2 separate regions of the Homo sapiens genome follow, and region 1 is linked to region 2. Evidence: promoter capture Hi-C in 16 types of primary human blood cells and fetal thymus (Javierre and others, 2016). All regions are on one chromosome and are shown on one strand. Each heading gives the region's core, a stretch centred on a gene start or on the middle of the fragment in contact. The rest is flanking DNA. Distances are from core to core; before and after follow the strand shown. Region 1 overlaps JAM2 (junctional adhesion molecule 2). Region 2 holds the start of JAM2 (junctional adhesion molecule 2).

Evidence for each region. Contacts are between HindIII fragments. The CHiCAGO score rates a contact against its expected background, and 5 or more counts as called.
Region 1: a fragment that was not itself captured here is called in contact with the fragment with the promoter of JAM2 in region 2 in 1 of 17 cell types (megakaryocytes); the score reaches 5.9 in megakaryocytes.

The regions. Positions count from the first base shown.
Region 1 is chr21:25,704,807-25,710,972 of GRCh38, forward strand. It overlaps JAM2 (junctional adhesion molecule 2), which reads left to right. Exons shown (of 10, transcript NM_021219.4): 7 at 1,173-1,280; 8 at 4,628-4,643. All of the region lies in intron 1 of LOC124905002 (a long non-coding RNA gene), which reads right to left. Among named protein-coding and RNA genes, the nearest start is that of ATP5PF, 27 kb to the right of the region's middle. The HindIII fragment of the contact is 3,961 bases long and covers 974-4,934 here.
Region 2 is chr21:25,635,568-25,642,310 of GRCh38, forward strand. It overlaps JAM2 (junctional adhesion molecule 2), which reads left to right and starts at 3,691. Exons shown (of 10, transcript NM_021219.4): 1 at 3,691-4,321. The coding sequence starts at 4,255. RefSeq lists enhancers at 3,324-3,463, 4,201-4,701, 4,604-4,673 and a silencer at 3,684-3,873. The HindIII fragment of the contact is 2,383 bases long and covers 3,500-5,882 here.

The DNA of each region.
Region 1 (6,166 bases), core at 1,704-4,203, 69 kb after region 2:
TCTGCTAGCCTGTTACATAGTTGTTTCCTAAACAAATCCATGTTCATCATGTTATTAATGACTTGAATGAGAGTATTTTTAATAAAATTCTCAATTTGCAGAAATGTTAAGCTTGGAAGGTTAATAATGTAATTATTAGGCAACAGAATCAATCTGAGAAGAAGAAAAAAACTTCACAGTAGTTATTTCCAAACTTGGGTTCAAAAAATCCAGTTGCATTACATTAGAGGACGGATGCCTTAACAGTCATAGGAAAAGCCTCAGAGAATTTAATTCATTTTTCATAAATGGGATGACAGTTTAGTTGCATATATGTATATGACTGTGTATGTGTGTATACACCCATATACATATAATTGTATATCTACACCCATATAATTCAAGAAGGAACGTATTTCTTACACTTAGTTTTACAGAATAACAATGACATGTGCTTTTTTTTAAGAGACAGTCTTGCTCTGTCACCCAGACTGGAGAGAAGTAGTGCAATCATAGTTCACTATAATCTGAAACTCCTAGGCTCAAGTGATCCTCCAACCTCAGCCTCCTGAGTAGCTGGGACTCCAGGAATGCACCACCATACCCGGATAATTTTTTTAATTTTTTTATTTTTTAGAGATGGATTCTTGCTATGTTGCCTAGGCTGGTCTCAAATTCCTAGCCTCAAGCAGTCCTCCCACCTCAGCCTCCTGAGTAGCTGGGATTACAGGCATGAGTCAACATGCCTGGCACCATGTGTTTTCTTTGACGTTGAGTTTTTCTTTATTTGTGAAATTGACACAGTTGATGATGTAGGAGAATTTTAAGTAAGACGTGGGGTAGGGAGTGGCAGTAGAATACTTGAACTCATTGAACTTCAAAGATTGCTTCCAGTCTTTTAATCCTGTGAATTATTACACATCTCCAAATGAATGCAAAAGAATACATTTTATTTTTTAATCTGAGAAGTTTTTAAAATTTAGTATTTTTCCAAAGCTTAAGTTCTGTTAATATTTTTAATCAATTTTGAACCATGTCTTAGAAGTGAGTTAGTTGAACAGGCTTCACAATCGTTAAAGTATGCTTTATGATATAGCTGCAAAGGGGATCTTTTTTTGAACCTTTTCAATTTAATGACTGCATCTGTCCGTGTAATCCACATATATTTATGCGTAATTTATTTTACATTCCAGATGATCTCAACATAAGTGGCATCATAGCAGCCGTAGTAGTTGTGGCCTTAGTGATTTCCGTTTGTGGCCTTGGTGTATGCTATGCTCAGAGGAAAGGCTACTTTTCAAGTAAGTGAATTTCACCCTTCTTTGGCAGATAACTTTCTATGGCTATGGAGTTTATTTATGAGATACTGTTTCTCCTAGGAAGTTGTTTTTTTGTTTGTTTGTTTGTTTTTCAGACAGAGTCTTGCTCTGTTGCCCAGGCTGGAGTGCAGTGGTGGCAAAATCTCCACTCAATACAACCTCCACCTCCCAGGTTCAAGTGATTCTCATGTCTCAGCCTCCCAAATAGCTGGGATTGCAAGTGTGCACCAACACACCCAGCTCATCTTTGTATTTTTAGTACAGATGGGGTTTCGCTATGTTGGCCAGGCTGGTCTCGAACTCCTGGCCTCAAGTGATCTGCCTGCCTTGGCCTTCCAAAGTGCTGGGATTACAGGTGTGAGCTATTGTGCCCGGCCCTCTCCTAGCAAGTTTTAACAAACTCTGGAGAATATTGTTCATTTATTTTCTGCTATAGAAAATGTTCAGGATGACATGCAGGTGGCTTATGAAACACCTTGGCAAACCTAGGGAGAAAAGGCAGAACTGCCTAGTTGCACATTCCAGGGAGCACCACAGAATATGCAAGAGGCATCCTTGGAGTGGTGCAGTGCAGCGAGACAGAGATATTCAATGTGAACGGATATTTATAGTATCTTTGCATGTTTTTAAGATTTTTTTTTGTTTGTTTTTTTGAGACGGAGTCTCACTGTGTCGCCCAGGCTGGAGTGCAGTAGCGCAATTTCGGCTCACTGCAAGCTCCACCTCCCAGGTTCACACCATTCTCCTGCCTCAGCCTCCCGAGTAGCTGGGACTACAGGCTCCCGCCACCACGCCCGGCTAATTTTTGTATTTTTAGTAGAGACGGGGTTTCATCGTGTTAGCCGGGATGGTCTCAATCTCCTGACCTCCTGATCCACCCACCTTGGCCTCCCAAAGTGCTGGGATAACAGGTGTGAGCCACCGCGCCCAGACAAGATATTTTTAAGTTAGGAATTGTATATCTCAAGATATAAGTTGATTTCAAATTCTTTAAGAAATTTCATTGAAATAAATAAGTGAAATATTTCATCAGTGTAGAACAGTGAAATGTTGAATGTTAAATTTAGGACAACTGTATTTAGAAGAGAATTGTTCAGCTGGGTGTGGTGGCTCATGCCTGTCATCCTACCACTTTGGGAGTCTGAGGCGGGAGGATTACTTGAGGTCAGGAGTTCGAGACCAGCCTGGCCAACATGGTGAAACCCCGTCTCTACTAAAAATACAAAAATTAGCCAGGAGTGGTGACATGCACCTGTAGTCCCAGCTACTGAGGAGGCTGAAGCAGAAGGATCACTTGAACCTGGGAGGTGGAGGTTGCAGTGAGCCAAGATCATGCCACTCCACTCCAGCCTGGGTGACAGAGCAAGACTCCATCTCAAAAAAACAACAAAAAAAGAGAATTGTTCAGTCAAAAATAGAAACCTATTGTATTTATGAGAGCTACTTCTGTACACAGTTTTGAATTCTTCAAATTTAGACCTCTTGTAACTTCACACCTCCATTTGATAATGCAATAGGTTTGATGTAAATGGGTGGGATTTAAAAATGTTTTATTCTCTTAATGCATTTCTTCACTCCCTCTTTAATATTATTGGAGAGCTCAGAAGCTGCAGCATTCTATCAGGGCCACTGGCAATAGTGTGTAAAATAAAATTCTTAATTGAATTATAAATTTATAGCATATACAAGTTCTAGACCCATTGTTTTACAGCGAACATTAATTTCGGAATTTAGATTTTTAAAACAATTTTTTTTTTTTGAGACAGGGTCTCACTCTGTCACCCATGCCTGGTGCAGTGGTGTGATCAAGGCTCACTGCAGCCTTGACTTTCCGGGCTCAAGCAGTCCTCCCACCTCAGCCTTCTCAAGTAGCTGGGACTACAGGCACATACCACCACACCTGGCTAATTTTCTTTTATTTTTTGTGGAGACAGGTTCTTGCTCTGTTGTTCAGGCTGGTATTGAACTCCTGGGATCAAGGAATCTTCCCATCCCAACCTCCCAAAATGCTAGGATTACAGGTGTGAGCCACCACTCTTGGCCTTTAAAAATATATTTTATGCCAAAAATAAACTTAAATATAAAATGTGTTCCTAATAATACCTACAACTAGGTATTATGTCTCATAAAATGTTTCCGTGGACATGGATTCAAAGAGATGCCCTATAATTAAGAATAACTGGGCTGGGTGTGGTGGCTCACACTTGCATTCCCAACACTTTGGGAGGCCGAGGCAGGAGGATCACTTGAGTCCAGGACTTCACGACCAGCCTGGGAAACATAGGGAGACCCTTTCTTTACAAAAAATAAAAAATAAGCCAGGCATCGTTGCACACACCTTTAGTTCCAGCTACTCAGGAGGCTAAAGTAGGAGGATCGCTTGAGCGCAGAAGGTCGAGGCTGCAGTGAGTTGTAATCTCACCACTGCACTCCAAGCTGGATAACAGAGCAAGACACTGACCAAACAAACAAACAAAAAGAGCGGCTCTGTCAATTAATACTTGTTCAGTGCTTCAATTTAGCCCACTTTAATGTAACTTTATGAATTGAATCCAGCTGTGGCCCCCTGCTGGTCATCAGTGAAAGTACAGACAAATAAGATAACTCTTCCAAAACTCTTGTCATCTTTATCTATAGCCTAAAATAATACTGGTCTGAGTTTTTTTAATGAGGAGTTAGTAAAAAAATTTTCCTAAAATATTGAATTAATTAAAAGTTGACTTGAATATTAGGAGTTCGTTACCTAAGAATGTTACTCTGATTTTTCATCTAGCAGAAAAATCTATCCAAGAGAAGCATATTCTTGAATATATGTTTAGGACAGAGGTTGGCAGACTACTATCTGTGGACCAAATCTGCCCTCCCCGCCTATTTTTCTATGGCCTATGAACAAAAATGGCTTTACAGATGAACATTTACAATCTATTTGATGATAGGGCCCGCTGACTTTGAACCCCAATTAAGAGAAATGTTATCTTCCCCAAAAGCATTCCATTTCTCTAACTAGTAGGCCTGTTTTTCAAGACTTTTATTATTATTGTTATTATTATTATTATATTTTTATTTTATCCATAAAAATGTTTGGAAATTTGTTTGCTCTCTTGTTACTTAAGTACCTATATAGTATCCTCTTGGCCCCAAAGCCTAAAATGGTTGCTGTATGGCTCTTTACCAAAAAAGTTTGCCAACTCTTAATTTAGAAGGTATAAACGTCAGCAAGTGAAGATTAAAATTAATAAAAATAAATTAAACCCAAACTCATTTTTATATGAATCTGTATCATACCATAATAACCCTTGCATTAATGATATATACTTTTTCTTTTGTAGAAGAAACCTCCTTCCAGTAAGTATACTTTCCTACAATGCATGTCTTTCTCCTATGTCAACTAATTTTCTATTAATCATCTGTTTAAAGTCAAAAGAGAGAAGTTGGGTTATTTGTGTAGGTTTACTCTCACAAGAAGTTACTCAAGTTTATCAAGAAATACATCTGTATTAGGCTGTTCTTGCATTGCTGTAAGAAAATACCCGAGACTGGGTAGTTTATTGTAAAAAGAGGTTTAATTGGCTCACGGTTCTGCAAGCTGTACAATCCTGGCACCAACACTGCTTGGCTTTTGGGGAGGCCTCAGGAAGCTTTTTACTCATGGCTGAAGGCAAAGCGGGAGCAGGCACGTCACATGGCAAAAGCAGGAGCAAGGTTGGGGAGGTGCCACATACTTTTAAACAACCAGATTTCAAGAAAACTCAGTCACTATTCTGAGGACAGCATCAAGGGGGCGGTACTAAACCATTCATGAGAAATCCGCCCCCATGATTTAATCGGCTCCAACAAACCCCACCTCCAACATTGGGGATTACAATTCAACATAAGATTTGGGCAAGGCAAATATCCAGACTCTATCAACATCCCACTTCACACTTCATACCTACTTGTAAATGGTAGTACAGAGAGAATGATGATTACCCAGCCTACTTGTAAATGGTAGTACAGAGAGAATGATGATTACCCAGACAAGAAATATGGTCACTAATTTGATTTCATAGGCATTTGTATAAACTAACTTAAAAAAAATTTACTGTATTTTGCTAAATTGAAAATTTTCAAATAAAATTTTAGTTAACAGTCATTTTTTTATATTAATTGAATACCAATTTTGTGCCTAACACTGTTCTAAGGAATGGGGATACAGCAGTGAACAAAACAGGCCAAAAACCCCACAAAACTCTGCCTTATGGAGCTTACATTCTAGTAGAGAAAGGCAGAAAATAAACAGGTAATACTATATAGTATATCAGATAGGGCCATTATGGAGAAAAATAAAACAAATAAGAGAATATACAATACAAAGGGTAGGAGTAGAGATTCTAATTTCAAATAGGGTGGTCAGAAAGGATCTCACTAAGTGATTTTTGAGAAAGGCCTGAAGAGGGTGAGGAAGCAAGTTGTGCAAATAACCATGAGAAGAGCGTTCAGGCAGAGGGGAGAGAGCAAATTGAAAGATCCTGAGGCCAGGCAAGCCTAGAATATCTGAGGGATGTCAGCGGGACCAGGGTGGCTGGAACAGAATGAGAGAAACAGAGGAGATGAGCGTACAAAAGTAGCGGTGGGGGCAGATTGTAAGGAGTCCCTTTTAGGCAGTCGTGAGGAGTCTGGCTTTGGTCTGAGTAAGATAGAAAGTCACTGGAGGGCTTTAAGCAGAGGAGTGGTGTCATTTTAATTTTTCAAAACTCACACTGGCTTCTCTGTTAAGAATAAACTATGAGATGACAAAAGGTGGAAGCAGGGAGATCAGTTAGCAAACTACCACACTAAGTGAGGCAAGAGAAAATGGTGGCTGGTGCCAAAGCAGTGTTGGAGATGCT
Region 2 (6,743 bases), core at 2,441-4,940:
CAACCAATCAGCACTCTCGACCCACTGGTCTTTCCCTCACCTACCAAGAATTATCCTTAAACACTCTGATCCCTGAATGCAGAGAGACTGATATGAGTAATGATAAAACTCCATCTTCCACACAGCCAGCTCTGCGTGAATGACTCTTTCACCATTACAATTGCCCTGTCTTGATAAATCAGCTCTATCTGGGCATCGGGCAAGGTGAACCCATTGGGTGGTTATATTCCTAACACAAAGAAATGATAAATGCTTGAGGACGTGGATATTCCAATTACCCTGCTTGCTACACTGTATGCTTGTATCAAATCATCACCTGTACCCCATAAATATATAAAACTATTATGTACCCATAATAATTAAAAAAATTTTTAAATATTTTTAATATATCTTATGCATTAGTTGCTTTACTAAGTATAAAACTCAAGTCTGCAAATTTTTTCTACATGTTTTTTGGAGGCTTGCTTTCTCTATTATCCATGTGGGCAATACCCTCATAGACACTAAATACAAGAGACAATTCTCAACCCTCTTTTTAGCCTTGGACTGTACAAACACCTCCACCTTTAGCTCCTGATTCTCTCCCAGTTCCTTTTGTACTTTTTGACTGCTCTTTCTTGTGTTCTTTCTCTGGGTTCTTTCTCTTCCTACCTCTTACTGCAGTTATTTCCTTAGATTTATCCATAAACATTCACTTCTTTGTCTGATTGATCTCATTCACTGCTCCTGCCTTCTAGAAAGTTCCTCAAACAATAATCCATAGATTCGTTGCATCAGAATTAATCAAGGTACTTGTTAATAATACAGCTTCCTGGGGCTGCTGAGATTAAAACTTCTGAAACTCAGAATTTTAACATAATTTTAAGGAAAGAATCATAATGAAGGAGCTCCAAAGGATTCTGGGGAGAAGATAGTCCAGTGATCACTGTTCTAGAAGATGCTGCTAATATTTATATTTATTTCTTTAGTCAATCCTGAGGGTTTCCTGTTCTCTAGAGCACTCATTCTAACAGTCTACTGGTCACCCCAGCTATATTTCTCTCTCTCAACTCATCCCAAACCTGCAGGAATTATGTATGCCCTCTATGTTTCTTATTCCTTTAATGACACTATTTATAACCTCCACATACAGCCACCTATGCTAGAAATCTGATACCTACATGTTCTCTCCTTTCTCACCCCTACATCTAGCTGATAACATAATCCTGTTGACCATGTTTGTGAAATATCATCTGAATCCACCCGGTTTTTCATTTATCACACGGTGACCATTTACTTCACAACTTGGTCTCTTTCTCAGGATATTGTAATAGTTTAGACTTGACTAACACCCTGATTCTCTTTTCTGTAATCCATCCTGCACATTTCAATATGAGTCATCATTCTAGAGCAGCACTCTCTTGTAGAACTTCCTGCAATGATGGAAATACATTTTCCAATATGGTAGCCCCTACCCTCATGTGACTATTGAGAAATTCATATGTGATCAGTGTCAGTGGAGAACTGCATTTTACATATAATTGAATTCAAATTTATATAGCCAGCCAGGCATGGTGGCTCACACCTGTAATTCCAGCACTTTGGGAGGCCAAGGCGTGTGGATCATCTGAGGTCAGAAGTTCGAGACCAGCCTGGCAAACATGGCGAAACCCCATCTCTACAAAAAATACAAAAATTAGCCTGCATGGTGGCACATGCCTGTAGTCCCATCTACTGGACTGAGGAGGCTGAGGCAGGAGAATCACTTGAACCTGGGAGGCGGAGGTTGCAGTGAGCTGAGATTGCACCACTGTACTCCAGCCTGTGTGACAAAGTGAGACTCTGTCTCAAATTAAAAACAAAACAAAAAAAATGTATATAGCCACTTAGATCTATAGGCTACCATATTGGACACCACAGTTCTAAAATATGAGTCTTTTCTTATCTCATTGCTTTCAAAAAGCTCATTAGCTGTAGGATGAGGTCTAGACAGTAGCGTGAATGCTCTTCGTACTCTAACCTCCCCTTCAGTTTCTACCACCACCACCACCTACCTCACTATCCCGATCCCACATACACTTTAGTACTGTAGAACCTTGCTTTTTCTAAATAAACCATAATTTTTCAATCTCCTAGCTCTGGATCCTGCTGTTTCCTCTATGTAGAATGCCTCTCCTTTATGTCCTTCCCTTCAGAATTTGACCCATTTTTCAAGGTTTAATAAAGAAAGCCCTGGCCCCACTCCCAACAAAAGGAACAGCCCCTTATCATGGACCTTGGACAAGCCATTTAGTGTCTCTCCGCCCAGTTTTCTCATCTGCAAAGTGGGAATGATAACATTTCCTCTTTTATGGAGTTGTTGGGGGATTAGATATTGCGTTATTCAGACTCCATCACTGAGAAAGCATGCAATAAAAATAGCTGTTATTATTTTCTGTCCTCCTGTAACATTTACCATGTGGTATCAGGCATCTTTCCTGATAAGACTCTGTCTCCCCTCAAGACTGTGAGCTTGTTAGCAAGAAAGCCTCTATCTTGTTCATGGTTGTCCTTCAGCATCCAGCACATTGTTGCCATTTGTCAAATGCCTTGGCTGGGTGGCAAATAAATAACTTAGTCAGTTACTCACATAGGATTGCATAGAATTTTTTTAAGTATGACATTTTTGTGTATATTTTTAGGGAGGAGTAAAAGACATATAGCTGTAGCAAGAATTAGAAAAAAGAAGATGCCAACAACTTTTCTTTTTAAGCATCAAATCCTTCTCATTACTGCCCAGAAAAACTGGCATAAGCTGTTGTTAAATCTGTGCCCCTTCTCCTCGGTTGACTGGAGTACGAGTTTTAACATTTTGCCATTTTGACTTTCCTTTCTGGGTCCCCTGGGTCCTCTCCTCCCACCCCCTCCCTGGGTACTAAGTTTTCATCACTGTCACCACGGCAACAGCAAGGATGCCTCATTCCTCACAGTTCTGCACAGCTAAACTCTGGTCGCCTTTGTCCACTGAGCTAGCTGAATTCTTTTTAAATACACCACTAAATCAACTATCTGCTGTACAGAACTTCATCCATTATTCAACCTTTAAAAAAAAACAAAAACAAAAACAAACAAAAAAACAAAAGAAAAAAACTGATGTATACTAATTTCTTCTCCTGGGAATGGCCTTTTTCCAGACCTGCCAATACTCTTGAATACACCATACATTTTTGGTCCCTAGGAACAAATATAAAAATTGCCAGTGTACGTGCGTCCAATGTAAGTGTGGTGCAATTTTAAAGCACGCAACAGAGCATTCATAATGGGTTTCCCTTTTAAAAGCACAGTAGACCAAAAATAAACCTGACAAAGGGCAGCTGTAGAGTTTTAACACGTGGAAAACTCCACAAGCAGCAGTTATGTAACTTGAAAGAAACATGATAAATATTTCACACCATTAGATGAACTTCCAACTCTGACACTGAAAAAAAAGCAAAGAACAAGAACGCGAGACAAATGCACCTCAAATCTCCAAGGAGCAAAAAGCTTAAACTGAGAAGGGACCAAGGCTGTACTAAAATCTGAGACCTGACTTCCAGCACGAGTCTTGATTGCTTTTTTTTTTCTCGAGTTCGAGGCGGAGCCCGCGAACCCCATCTCCTCAGAGCGCCACCCCCTCAGCTTCGCCCGTTGGGCAGAATTTTCCAAATATCTCCACCCCTAGGCTGAAAAGCCAGAAAGAAGTTTTGAGCCAACGAGGGGAAGAAAGGAGTTGGGGCAAAACAGGAGGCGTTTCCCTACCCGCATACATCCCCGTCCCCGAGACACCCAATCCCCCCACCCCCAGCCTGCCCGCGCCTCCCGCCCCCAGCTCCTCGCCCTGGGGACAGCTGGCAGCCCCGCGCGGACCAGACACAAAGCCGATCAATCCCGGAGGCGTGGGGGCGGAGGGACGACCCGCCGGGGCTTTCCCGGGCGCTGCTCTCCTCCTGCTGCCCCCTCGCTAGGACCCGGCGGACGCCTCGTCTGGTTTTCACGCCCTCTAGCCCCTACCCCCACACCCCCAAAACAGAACAGACCCCCATCCCTGGGCTGGAGGACCCGCCTCTTGGCAGCCAGCTGAGAAGGCGCCCCGGGGAGGGGGAAACTGACATCCCATCTAGAGCCGTCCCTCCTCTTCCTCCCCTCCCGACTCTCTGCTCCTTTCCCGCCCCAGAAGTTCAAGGGCCCCCGGCCTCCTGCGCTCCTGCCGCCGGGACCCTCGACCTCCTCAGAGCAGCCGGCTGCCGCCCCGGGAAGATGGCGAGGAGGAGCCGCCACCGCCTCCTCCTGCTGCTGCTGCGCTACCTGGTGGTCGCCCTGGGCTGTAAGTTGCTCGGGTTCCTCTACCCTTCCTGCCTGGACCAGCCTGCCCCCACCCTCCAGCCCCCCACGGGGCGCTGGCTGACAGTGTCTGGGCGGCTCTGGGCCGAGGTCGCCGCGGGGCGTCTGACCTTGCGCCCAGGCGAGCGGGAAACCCAGGGTGCCCGCGAGCGGACGCTGGGAGCAAGGGAGCGCGAGGTCGTGGGTTTCTTGTGAATTGCGTCTGATTTTGTCAGTTCTAGATACAGAAAATTAAGGGTTCCCACTAGCAGGTTCTCATCTGTTTGCAAAGTTGGGGTAAGTTTTCAGACAGAGGGACGTGATTCGAATGCAAAACTCACTACCCACTGGTAAGATGCTAAGACCCCAAGAAAGATGGCATCACTGGGAGGCGGGCGCCGGCCACACTTTGAGTCCCCGGGGAGGGGGCAGCGTCCGCGTGGTCTGGGCTCTGTAGCGTCCCAGCTGAGCCGGCGATATGCAGCGCACTTGTGGGGCGGAGGTGGAGGGAATTCGTGGCTGCTGAGCCAGAATTACTTTTATCCTCTCCACCTGCACATCTACATTCACTTAGAGAAGTCTGGTCTGGGGACTCTAGCCAGCTGCTCTGTCCTCAGGGGACATCCAACGGGACGATTGTTAGAAAGATTCAGAAGCCACATGATCCAGTAGCTGGGGAGACGTCCCAAAGCCAATTTCACCGGATGATTTTAAACAGGATTTTCACGGATTCTGGACTCATGAGATTTGAAATCCTGGGAACGTTGCCGTTATTTTGTTTTCTTCGCGTTAACTTTTTAGGAAAATGGAGGAAATTACAATAGACTAAGCAATGCAGTTCTACTTTTGCTTTTTCTTTTTTCTCTCACCTTTTTTGTTTTGCTTTTTTCCCTTCCTTCCTTCCTCCCTTCCTTTCTCTTTCTTCTTTCTTTCTCTCTCTCTTTCTTTCTGTCTCTCTTTCTTTCTTTTGTAAAATGAGTTATTGTTGCTATTCACGTTCTGGTAAAGTAACACTTATAATACTTAACCTGCGGGACGAGTGTCTAATACCACAATACAATGATATTTTCTCACGCCCTCGCTGCCCAAGTGATCATCGCACAGCTCAAGTGATGTGAGCCACGTCCCTTTGTGGAGGAGGAAGGTGCACATTGTCTCAGGCAAGGGACATGTACTGACCAATATTATATAAAGTCAAACCAGAAAGCCAAAGTTTCACAATGAAACCCTTGTGCAATTCTGAAATATCAATTGGTATCATATGGAACACACAGAAGAAAAAAAATGCACTCATGCTAAAAGGCAACAGAGAGGTAGGCTGGAGAAATCGTTAACAGAACAACTGAGAAAGTTATGTATTCTGCTGAAATTCTAAATTTCAAATAGAAAAGAGTGTGCCTTTTAGTGTAGAATTGTCACTAATTAAAAACAGAAAATCGTTCTGCTGTGCTATTCCTATTGAATCACCAACATAGAAACAATACACCCCAAGTCTGAAATTGTAGTGGAGAAACAACCAAGAGGCGAACAAAAGCATAAATGAATGGGGCTGAGTGACCTCTTCAAGCTTTAGGTAAATATAACACATTGTCTCTGCTAAACTTGATTCCTATAGGGGATGTATTTGGAAGTGTTGTGGGGACTTTTCTATATTGTTCCTGGGATACTAAAAGATCTGGCATTGCAAGAGTGTTTTCTTTGTATGTGGGTGTTTTTTTTTTTATGTTTAAAACAATTTTAGAACAGTTTGGATTTAAATAAAAATTCCAACGCTAGTATAGAGAGTTCTCATATACTCCACACCCAGTTTCCCACATTGTTAATATCTTACATTAGTATGGTACACTTTATTCAAATTTCCTTCATTCTTACCTAATGCCTTTTCTATTCCAGGATGCCATCCAGGCTACCATATTACATTTAGTTGTCCTGATTCCTTAGGTTCTTCTTGGTTGTAACAGTTTCTTAGGCTTCCCTTGCTTTCTCTTACTATAATGGGTTTGAGGAGTTCTGGTCAAGTATCTGGTAGAATGACTGCGAATTGCTGTTTCTCTGATATTTTTCTCATAACTAGACTGGGGTTATAGGTTTTTTGGAGGAAGATCAGAAAGTGGTAAGGGGCCTAGGTAAAGTGACATTTTCATCACATTATCTCCAGGGAACATACCGTACACATGACTTATTGCTGTTGATGTGAACCTAGGTCACCTGTAATCATACTCCTAATGTAGTGCATACCAGTTTTCTCCACAGATTACCTACCCTTTTTTCTTCATTTCCATACTAGATTTTTTTGGAAGGAAGTCACTACATGCAACCCACACTTCTTCAGGAAGGAGAGTTATGCTCCATCTCCTTGAAGGCGGAGTATCTTCATAAATTATTTGGAGCTCTTCTGCATGGGAGATGGGTCTCTCCCTTCCCTT